Linked DNA regions of Homo sapiens: regions 2 and 3 are each linked to region 1. Evidence: promoter capture Hi-C in human tissues and cell types (Jung and others, 2019). All regions are on one chromosome and are shown on one strand. The core of a region is centred on a gene start or on the middle of the fragment in contact, and the rest is flanking DNA. Distances in the headings are between cores, read along the strand shown. Region 1 holds the start of ALDH2 (aldehyde dehydrogenase 2 family member). Region 2 overlaps ACAD10 (acyl-CoA dehydrogenase family member 10). Region 3 overlaps MAPKAPK5 (MAPK activated protein kinase 5).

What was found. Contacts are between HindIII fragments. The study calls those that stand out against the background at their distance.
Region 2: a contact is called between a fragment that was not itself captured here and the fragment with the promoter of ALDH2 in region 1, in 3 of the 25 tissues and cell types used here (IMR-90 fibroblasts, hippocampus and mesendoderm cells).
Region 3: a fragment that was not itself captured here is called in contact with the fragment with the promoter of ALDH2 in region 1 in 2 of the 25 tissues and cell types used here (aorta and bladder).

What each region holds. Positions count from the first base shown.
Region 1 is chr12:111,765,179-111,768,501 of GRCh38, forward strand. ALDH2 (aldehyde dehydrogenase 2 family member) reads left to right here and starts at 1,755. Exons shown (of 13, transcript NM_000690.4): 1 at 1,755-1,918. The coding sequence starts at 1,805. RefSeq lists an enhancer at 1,214-1,983 and a silencer at 1,443-1,762. The HindIII fragment of the contact is 11,183 bases long and covers 1-3,323 here.
Region 2 is chr12:111,695,164-111,698,222 of GRCh38, forward strand. All of the region lies in intron 2 of ACAD10 (acyl-CoA dehydrogenase family member 10), which reads left to right. Among named protein-coding and RNA genes, the nearest start is that of ACAD10, 11 kb to the left of the region's middle. The HindIII fragment of the contact is 6,900 bases long and covers 1-3,059 here.
Region 3 is chr12:111,881,115-111,884,427 of GRCh38, forward strand. MAPKAPK5 (MAPK activated protein kinase 5) reads left to right here. Exons shown (of 14, transcript NM_003668.4): 9 at 2,467-2,654. Among named protein-coding and RNA genes, the nearest start is that of MAPKAPK5-AS1, 40 kb to the left of the region's middle. The HindIII fragment of the contact is 4,003 bases long and covers 1-3,293 here.

The sequences.
Region 1 (3,323 bases), core at 505-3,004:
CTTAAGCAAATCAAGAGCATACATTGTGGCATTGTTTGTAGTGGCAAAAGATTGGAAACAACCTAAATGTCCATCATAGGAAATTCATGAAATAAAACTACCTCATGTATCCAGAGGAATACCATGAAACTGTTGAAGAGAATGGGGACATAGTCCTTGTGTGCTGTGACAAAACGATCTCCACACACAGTATTAAGGGAAAAAAAGTACCTGGCACGGTGGCTCATGCCTGTAATCCCAGAACTTTGGGAGGCCGAGGTGGGCGGATCACCTAAGGTCAGGAGTTCGAGACCAGCTTGACCAATATGATGAAACCCCATCTCTACTAAAAATACAAAAATTAACCAAGTGTGGTGGCATGCGCCTGTAATCCCAGCCACTTGGGAGGCTGAGACAGGAGAATCGCTAGAACCTGGGAGGTGGAAGTTGCAGTGAGCCCACATGGTGCCAGCCTGGGCAACAAGAGTGAAACCCCATCTAAAAAAAAAAAGCAAGGCGCCATTGGGAAGGGGAAGTGGGGCCTGCATGGCTGAATTCAGAGAAGGAAGGGAGTCTTGGTTATCAGATTATCTCTGCAGCTGATCTCCAAACCTATTTCCCTTCTTCCTGGCACAGGGGCCACTCATTTCCCAGACTCTTTTGCATGGAGGCATGGTTGTGTGATTGAAATCCAGCCAGGCGAGCAGGCTCAGCCCACAGAAACCTCCCATGGGCCACCCCCATGCCTTTTCTTCCTCTGGTTTGTGTGGAATGGTGCTGAGCCCCCAGGGCGACTTTGGTGGAATCTGGTGTTGAAATCAGAGTCCCACCGCCGGGCGCGGTGGCTCACGCCTGTAATCCCAGCACTTTGGGAGGCCGAGGCAGGCGGATCATGAGGTGAGGAGATCGAGACCATCCTGGCTAACACGGTGAAACCCCGTCTCTACTGAAAATACAAAAAATTAGCCGGGCGTGGTGGCAGGCGCCTGTGGTCCCAGCTACTCCGGAGGCGGAGGCAGGAGACTGGTGTGAACCCGGGAGGCAGAGCTTGCAGTGAGCCGAGATCGTGCCACTGCACTCCAGCCTAGGCGACACAGTGAGACTCCGTCTCAAAAAAAAAAAAAAAAAAAAGAATAAGCAAATCATGCAAATCATCCTGTTCTAAACTCTGAACCGCTGCTTCCAAGACCGTCCCTGCCCTTGCCCTGGCCGCCTCTCTCCTTGTTAACTGGGCTCCATTCATTCTTTCCATTTCTCTAACACGTGCCAGGTGGTCTCATCTCCTGGCCTTTGCCCTTGCTGTTCCCTGTCATCATTCAGGTCTCACTTGTCATTTCCTGACCATGGTACTTATAAAAGCAGTGCCGTCTGCCCCATCCATGTCACCTCGTTCATCTCCTTCACCTCCGAAATGATCTCGCTTTTGGGTTTACGGCCGGTCTCTTCACCTGGAGCATCAGCCGGGAAGGTCAGGGTCGCCCTGGCTCGGGCCTGTTCACATTGGGGTCAAAGGCACACATTGGGGGCTCAACCAAGGCGAGCTGCGTTCGCGGGGCCGGGTCTTTCCGCACAGGCGGAGGGCGGTGGCGGGCGCGGAGGCGTCGCGCGAGCCAGGGGGCAGCCACGGGCCGGGGGTACCTAGCGCCACCCGCTTCGCTTGCATCAGCTGCGCGCCCCATCCCGAGGAATGGTAGAGGCAGCCCCGCCCCCGGCCCGCCCCCGCCTTTCCATTGGCTGCCGCGCGGGGCGGGGAGCGGGGTCGGCTCAGTGGCCCTGAGACCCTAGCTCTGCTCTCGGTCCGCTCGCTGTCCGCTAGCCCGCTGCGATGTTGCGCGCTGCCGCCCGCTTCGGGCCCCGCCTGGGCCGCCGCCTCTTGTCAGCCGCCGCCACCCAGGCCGTGCCTGCCCCCAACCAGCAGCCCGAGGTCTTCTGCAACCAGGTGAGCCCACCGGCCGGGCTCGCGCTTTGTTTTCCGGCCCGAGTCCCCCGCAGGCCCCTAGGAAGGCCCCGCGCCGCCGTGGGCCTTAGTGTACTCATCTGGGGCTCGAGGGGTTTGCAGAGGCTGACCTGGAAGCACATCTGCCCCCTCCTCTCCTGCAAGCATTTTAGCCCCTTCGCCGCCTCTGACAGTCCCCGTCCCATTTCCCCGTGACTTGGGCCCCCTCTCCGTCTTCGCCCAGCCTCGGTCTGTTTTCCAGGGCCAACTCTCGGGGTTCCGTTCTCCCCATGGTCCTTGCTTTCGGGTCTCCGCAGGGTCCCCACCCTCACCCACTCAGAAGACGCGACCAAGTCCCTCTTTGCAGGAACTTTCCTGTCTTTTCCTTAGTCATCCCCTTTACCCCCTGACTCATGCCCTCATCCAAGGAGTTCAAAAGGAAAAACCAGGAAAGAGGTGATTTGCAGCCACGTTCTCCAGTTCACCATGGGCGAGGCCACGCTCGGCTGCTTCCATTGCTGGGAGTAGGGAATCCTGGAGGACCTTCGGCCCCAGGGGGCCGACCCCAAGGGGTGTCTGCGGCTTCCAACGCCGGCTTCGACCAAACCAAGGAGGAGCTTTCCAGGATAAAACTGATTCCTGTGGTCCATTTATTGATTGCTCAATCAGTAATACTTTGGAATATTTTTTGTTTTGATCTTTGAGTTTGGTTAAAGTTCTAGACTTCACAGAGGCTGAAATTGGTTATGAAAGAGTTTGTTTTGTTTGTGCCAGTGCATGTTGGCTGCCTTCTCTGACTTAAGCTTTTTCTCCTATAAATGGAAAGGCGCTCTGAGGGTTAGGTTCACACAGGCCCTCATCAACCAGTCACTTCATAGTTAATCACAGCTCCTGTCCTGTCTGCACAGCCTTTGTGCAGCACTGTTCTAAGCGTCTACCTGTTTTGCAATTTAAGGTAATTTTTACAACAGCCTCAGTAGGAAGGGACTGTAATTCTCCATTTTACAGATGAAGAGACTGAGTCACAAAGAGGTTTAGTGACTCACCTAAAGACCAAAGTCAGTGGCATAGTTGGGGTTCACAGCTGAACTTCCAGGAGTAAGCCCCTAACCAGAACATTCCATGGTATGTTGTGACTCTGGGTGGGAACAAAGGGACCACCGATCCTCTGGGACTATTGCTGATTTGGGATGCTGTAGAGCTGGCTCCTAGCCAGCTGCTTTCAACAGCACACCTGCTGGTCTGGCCCTGAGTGTGGCTGCAAATCTGGATATAGGTGATGGGTAAAGGCACATGCGTGTGATTTTAGGGGATGTTACAAAGGTCATTTGCAAGGGAATTTTTAAAAGGATAAAATAAAATCTTTTGCATAACACAAGCTAAAAAGGCAGCAGCTATGGCTCCCTTG
Region 2 (3,059 bases), core at 132-2,631, 70 kb before region 1:
TTAGCTTTCCTGCTATGGACTACCTGATGCTCCCCAGGCATGCCAGGCACATTTGCATGTTTGTGCCTTTGCAAGCTGTGTTTCCTCCCTGCCTCCTCTGCCTGTTCAAATCCTACTGATGCTTTTAATGGCAAATTTAAGGGGATATTATTCAGCAATGACTGGAATCTTTTGAACACTCAGTAAATCTCATGGTTGTTACTAACTTCAAGAGTCCTCTTCTGTCAAGACTTCTCCAACCTCATTTGCAACCTGGGCAGAATGTTCCTGGATAGCCAATTCCCATTAAGTTTCACCTTCACCGAGATATTTTTGTTTGCAGTGGGATATGTTCATGTCTCCTCTATGGGGCTCTTGGATTCCAGGACCCCAGGTCTGGGATTTCTTCACTTCACTGTTGCAGTGTTAGCTCTGCAGGCTGGCTCAGTCATTCAGGAAATGTTTGATGGGTAAATGTGAACAAAATAGTGATGCCTTCTACTTTGTCTTTTGCTTGACTGGAGCTTCTAATGTTATTTATTTCAAATGAACCATATCAAGGGTCATTTGATAAGAATATACTAGAATTGGCCAGGTGCGGTGGCTCATGCCTTTAATCTCAGCACTTTGGGAGGACGAGATGGGCGGATCACTTGAGGTCATGAGTTTGAGACCAGCCTGGCCAACATGGCAAAATCCAATCTCTACTAAAAATTCAAAAATAAGCGGGGCATGGTGATGGGCACCTGAAATTGCAGCTACTCTGGAGGCTGAGCAGGGAGAACCACTTGAACCCGGGAAACAGAGGTTGCAGTGAGCTGAGATCATACCATTGCGCTGCAGCTTGGGAGACAGAGCAAGACTCTGTCTCAAAAAAAAAAAAAGTATATATATATATACACTAGAATTACTGTACTATACTATTTTTTTTTTTCTTGAGATGGGATCGCGCTCTGTTTCTTAGGCTGGAGTGCAGTGGTACAATCATGGCTCACTGCAGCCTGAAACTCCTGGGCTCAAGCAATCCTGCCTCAGGCTCCCAAGTAGCTGGGACTACAGGTGTTTGCCACTATGCCTAATTTTTGTTTTTTATAGAGATGGGGTCTTGCTATGTTTCTCAAGCTAGTGTCGAACTCCCGGGCTCAAGTGATCCTCCTGCCTTGGCCTCTTGAGTCATTGGAATTACAGGTGTGAGTTACCATGCCTCACCTGCTGTCTGTTTTTGTATGGCCTGTCAGCCAAGAATGACTTTTATGTTTTGAAATACGTAATTGAAAAATATCAAAACAAGAATAATATTTTGTGACATGTGAAAATTATGTGAAGTTCATATTTCAATGTCCATAAAAATGAAATTTTTTAGAAAACCATCTTGCCCATTTGTTTACATATTGTCCATGACTGCTTTTACCCTGTACTGGCAGAGTTGAGTAATTTCAACAGGGTCCGTAATGCTTTCAAAGCCTAAAATATTTACCATCTGGCCCTTTTCAGAAAAGCTTGATTTAAGCTGTTAGTTTACTATAAAATTAGTACGCACAACAAAGAATTCAAAGTATAGCCCAAACATTTTAGTTTTTTTATTTTTTATTTTACTTTATTTTTCTCCAAGAATGCATTTTCAGACCAAAGCTCAAACACTTTAAGATTGAATTTAGGCCGGGCACAGTAGCTCACGCCTGTAATCCCAGCAGTTTGGGAGGCCAAGGCAGGTGGATCACGAGGTCAGGAGATTGAAACCATCTTGGCTAACGTGGTGAAACCCCGTCTCTACTAAAAATACAAAAAATTAGCCAGGCGTGGTGGCAGGTGCCTGTGGTCCCAGCTACTTGGGAGGCTGAGGCAGGAGAATGGCGTGCACCCAGGAGGCAGAGCTTGCAGTGAGCCTAGATGGCACCACTGCACTCCAACCTGGGCGATACAGCGAGACTCCGTCTCAAAAAAAAAAAAAAATTGGGCATGGTAGTCCATGCCTGTAATCCCAGATACTCGGGAGACTGAGGCAGGAGAATTGCTGGAACTCGGGAGGCAGAGGTTGCAGTGAGCCAAGATAGCACCACTGCACTCCAGCCTGGGTGACAGATCAAGACTCCGTCTTGGGAGAAAAAAAAAATTGAATTCAGAGGGTATAATGATTTCGAAACTTCAAAATGTTTGACTTTAAAATTTTTGTTAGTGTGATAGATGAAAATTCCATCTTTGTGGTTTCTTTTCTTTTCCTTTTTTTTTTTTTTTTGAGACAGAGCATCATTCCATTGCCCAGGCTAAAGTGCAGTGGCGTGATCTTGGCTCACTGCAACCTCCATCTCCCGGGTTCAAGCAATTCTCGTGCCTCAGCCTCCCAAGTAGCTGGTATTACAGGTGTGTGCCACCATGCTTGGCTAATTTTTGTATTTTCAGTAGAGACAGGGTTTCGCCATGTTGACCAGGTTGGTCTCTCTCTTTTTTTTTTTTTTTTTTGAGACAGAGTCTTGCTCTGTCGCCCAGGTTGGAGTACAGTGATGCTATCTCAGCTCACTGCAAACTTCGCCTCCCGGGTTCACACCATTCTCCTGCCTCAGCCTCCCGAAGTAGCTGGGACTGCAGGCATCCACCACCACGCCCTGCTAATTTTTTGTATTTTTATTAGAGACAGGTTTCACTGTGTTAGCCAGGATGATCTCAATCTCCTGATCTGGTGGTCCGCCCGCCTTGGCCTCCCAAAGTGCTGGGATTATAGGTGTAAGCCACTGGGCCTGGCCTTTTTTTTCCTGTTATTTTAATGTTCATTTGCCTGATTGCAACTGAGGTTGCGCCTTTTTTTTTTTTTTTTGAGTCGGAGTCTCACATTTGCCTGATTGCAACTGAGGTTGCGCCCTTTTTTTTTTTTTGAGTCGGAGTCTCACTCTGTCACCCAGGCTAGAGTGCAGTGCTGTGATCTCGGCTCACTGTAACCTCTGTCTCCCTGGTTCAAGCTATTCTCCTTCCTCAGCCTCTCGAGTAGCTGGGACTACAGGTGTGCACCACCACACCTAGCTAATTTTTTATATGTTTTTAGTAGAGATGGGGTTTCACCATGTTGGCCAGGCTGGTCTTGAACT
Region 3 (3,313 bases), core at 42-2,541, 120 kb after region 1:
CCAGGCTGGAGTACAGTGGTGTGATCTCAGCTCACTGCAACCTCCACCTCCTGTGCTCAAACGATTCTCCTGCCTCAGTCTCCCAGGTAGCTGAGATGATGGGTGCATGCCACCACACTCAGCTAATTTTTGTATTTTTAGTAGAGTCGGGGTTTCTCCATGTTGGCCAAGCTGATCTCAAACTCCTGACCTCAAGTGATCCGCCCGCCTCGGCCTCCCAAAGTGCTGGGATTACAGGCGTGAGCCACCGCACCCAGCCTGTAGCCCACATATTGATCCTGTCTGTTCCTTTTTTTTTTTTTTTTTTTGAGACAGAGTCTTACCCTGTCGCCCAGGCTGGAGTGCAGTGGCACAATCTCGGCTCACTGCAACCTCCGCCTCCCGGGTTCAAGCAATTCTCTTGCCTCAGCCTCCCAAGTAGCTGGGATTACAGGCGCCTGCCACCACGCCTGGCTAATGTTTTGTATTTTTAGGAGAGATGAGGATTCACCATGTTGGCCAGGTTGGTCCTGAATTCCTGACCTCAGGTGATCCACTCGCCTCGGCCTCACAAAGAGCTGGGATTACAGGCGTGAGCCACCGTGCCCAGCCGATCCTATCTGTTCTAAAGCACAAGAGGTTTAGGGCCTCTAGAAATAGGCCCTGGAGTCACTGAGTAAGTAGATCAGAAAAAAGATGCTACTTGGGGACTTGAGGCTAGATATAGATGACAGAAGGGGCTGAGAATGGTAAAAAGGCAGTAGGCTGGGACACTTGCTGTGGCTCCACTACTCTTAATCTGTGTAACATTGGTGAGGTCACTTGGTTTCACTCTTGACAGAGGACCTGAGAGATGACATGATCTCTGCAGTATTAGTTCCCTTTCTGGAAAGTGAGGGATTGAAGGTCCCTTTCCACCCCTGTAATTTTATTCTGTGATTCTGTTCTACAGCATGGGCTGTGTCATCCACAAATATCTACTAGTATAATGTGAAAACATGGGCAGGCCTGGCGCAGTGGCTCACGCCTGTAATCCCAGCACTTTGGGAGGCCGAGGTGGGCGGATCACGAGGTCAGGAGATCGAGACCATCCTGGCCACTGTGGTGAAACCCCGTCTCTACTAAAAATACAAAAAATTAGCCGGGTGTGGTGGCGGGCGCCTGTAGTCCCAGCTGCTTGGGAGACTGAGGCATGAGAATCGCTTGAACCCAGGAGGCAGTGGTTGCAGTGAGCTGAGATCGCGCCACTGCACTCCAACCTGGCGACAGAGTGAGACTCCGTCTCAAAAAAAGAAAATACAGGCGAGAGTACCTGAGACACCCCATTATTCAGCCTTTATGCAGAGCACCGCACAGCTGTGGTGTGAGGGGGAGTGTGGGGCCCCAGTGGCAGGCTCACGGGGCTGCCATCTTAGGCAGGCACCTCTTTTATCTCGCTGTTCAAGAAAGGCTTGAATTGAAGCCTCTGCAAACCCAGTTTTCAAAGCAAATGGAGCTGCATTTAACTAAAATAGGAGTCCTTTATGCAGTGATATAGGCCATGGAGTCACCTTACTACCTGCAGACATGGTAGTTGGTAGCAGTTTTCTTTTTTTCACAGTATCTTCCCCCAGAATGGTGTAAGAGCTTGCAAATGGACCTAGTGAGTCCTTCATGGTCAAAGGAATGCATTTAGACCTTCTGTTCTTCCCTCCAGTCCTCTCCATGATCTGTGTCAAACTGCTTTGGGCCTTTATGAAGTGGCCTGTGCTGTACTGTAGGTGAGCCTACCTGTCTCTTAGTTGCTTTGTTTCTACATAGAGGTTTCACAACCAGCTGGTTTATATTTATTTCTTTTCTGGCTGGGGCAAAGCATCCTATACCTGTACACAGGGATCAGATAGGTGCTTGGGCCTAAAGAGTGAGAATGAAAGTACCTGTACATTTTATCCCAGACTGGCTTTGTATGATGGGATGCATGTATGTAGTATTGGCAGCTTATTGAAAATATGGAGAGAGGCCAGGTGTGGTGAGTCACGCCTGTAATCCCAGCACTTTGGGAGGCCAAGGCGGGCAGATCACGAGGTCAGGAGTTCGAGACCAACCTGACCAACATGGTGAAAGCCTATCTCTACTAAAAAAAAAATACAAAAATTAGCCAGGCGGCATGGTGGCACATGCCTGTAATCCCAGCTACTCAGGAGGCTGAGGCAGGAGGAATTGCTTGAACCTGGGAGGCGGAGGTTGCAGTGAGCTGAGATTACGCCACTGCACTCCAGCCTGGGCAACAGAGCAAGACTCTGTCTCAAAGAAAAAAAAAGAAAGAAAGAAAATATGGAGATAAAGACTAGTTCTCCTAAGACTTCCTTCAGCTTTCCTAGTCTCTGTTAAGTGACTCTAGTTTATATCAGCCTATATATTGCAGGGGCTATTCCTGAGCCTGTCATGGGGTGTTTATTTGGGGGCTCTGCTTCTGCTGTGAGTGACCATTTTCTTTTTTGCTTTCAGAGCTGTGACTTGTGGTCCCTAGGGGTGATTATCTATGTGATGCTGTGCGGATACCCTCCTTTTTACTCCAAACACCACAGCCGGACTATCCCAAAGGATATGCGAAGAAAGATCATGACAGGCAGTTTTGAGTTCCCAGAGGAAGAGTGGAGTCAGATCTCAGAGATGGCCAAAGATGTTGTGAGGAAGTGAGTTCACGGGCTGCTGGGCATGGAGGCCAAGGAGGCCTCCAGGTGGTGGAGCACAAGGGAATGTGGGTAGAGAAAAGTCACTGGTTTCCTAGGCAGGCTCCTCCCCGTTTTAATATCACAGAAATCTCTCTGGAGCCTGAGGTGACTGTTCTCAGTGTCCACACCTTGGTGCGAATGAAGCTTTCCTCCCTCCTGTTGCATCCCTAGACTTTGTCCCCAGGGTGTGAACCCAGGTCCCTCCATAGGCAGTCTCTGCACATTAATTCAAGACCCTAAATTATAGACCTGGTGTGCTGTCCTTCTTACCTGTGAGCTGGCATGTCATTTGGGACAGATACAATGCCAGGAGGTGAACTAGGTGCCGAGATGACAAACAGCATCCTTGGATGCTGTGGTTATGTGGGTTTGTCAGGCCTGGACCCCACCCTCCACCTTCGCGCTGCCAGTTGGTTGCTTTGAGATGGAGTCTCGCTCTGTTGCCCAGGGTGGAGTGCAGTGGTACAATCTTGGCTCACTGCAACCTCCACCTCCTGGGTTCAAGTGATTCTCCTGCCTCAGCCTCGGCAGTAGCTGGGATTACAGGAGCCCGCTAACACGCCCAGCTCATTTTTGTATTTTAAGTAGAGATGGGGTTTGACCATGTTGGCCAGGCTGGT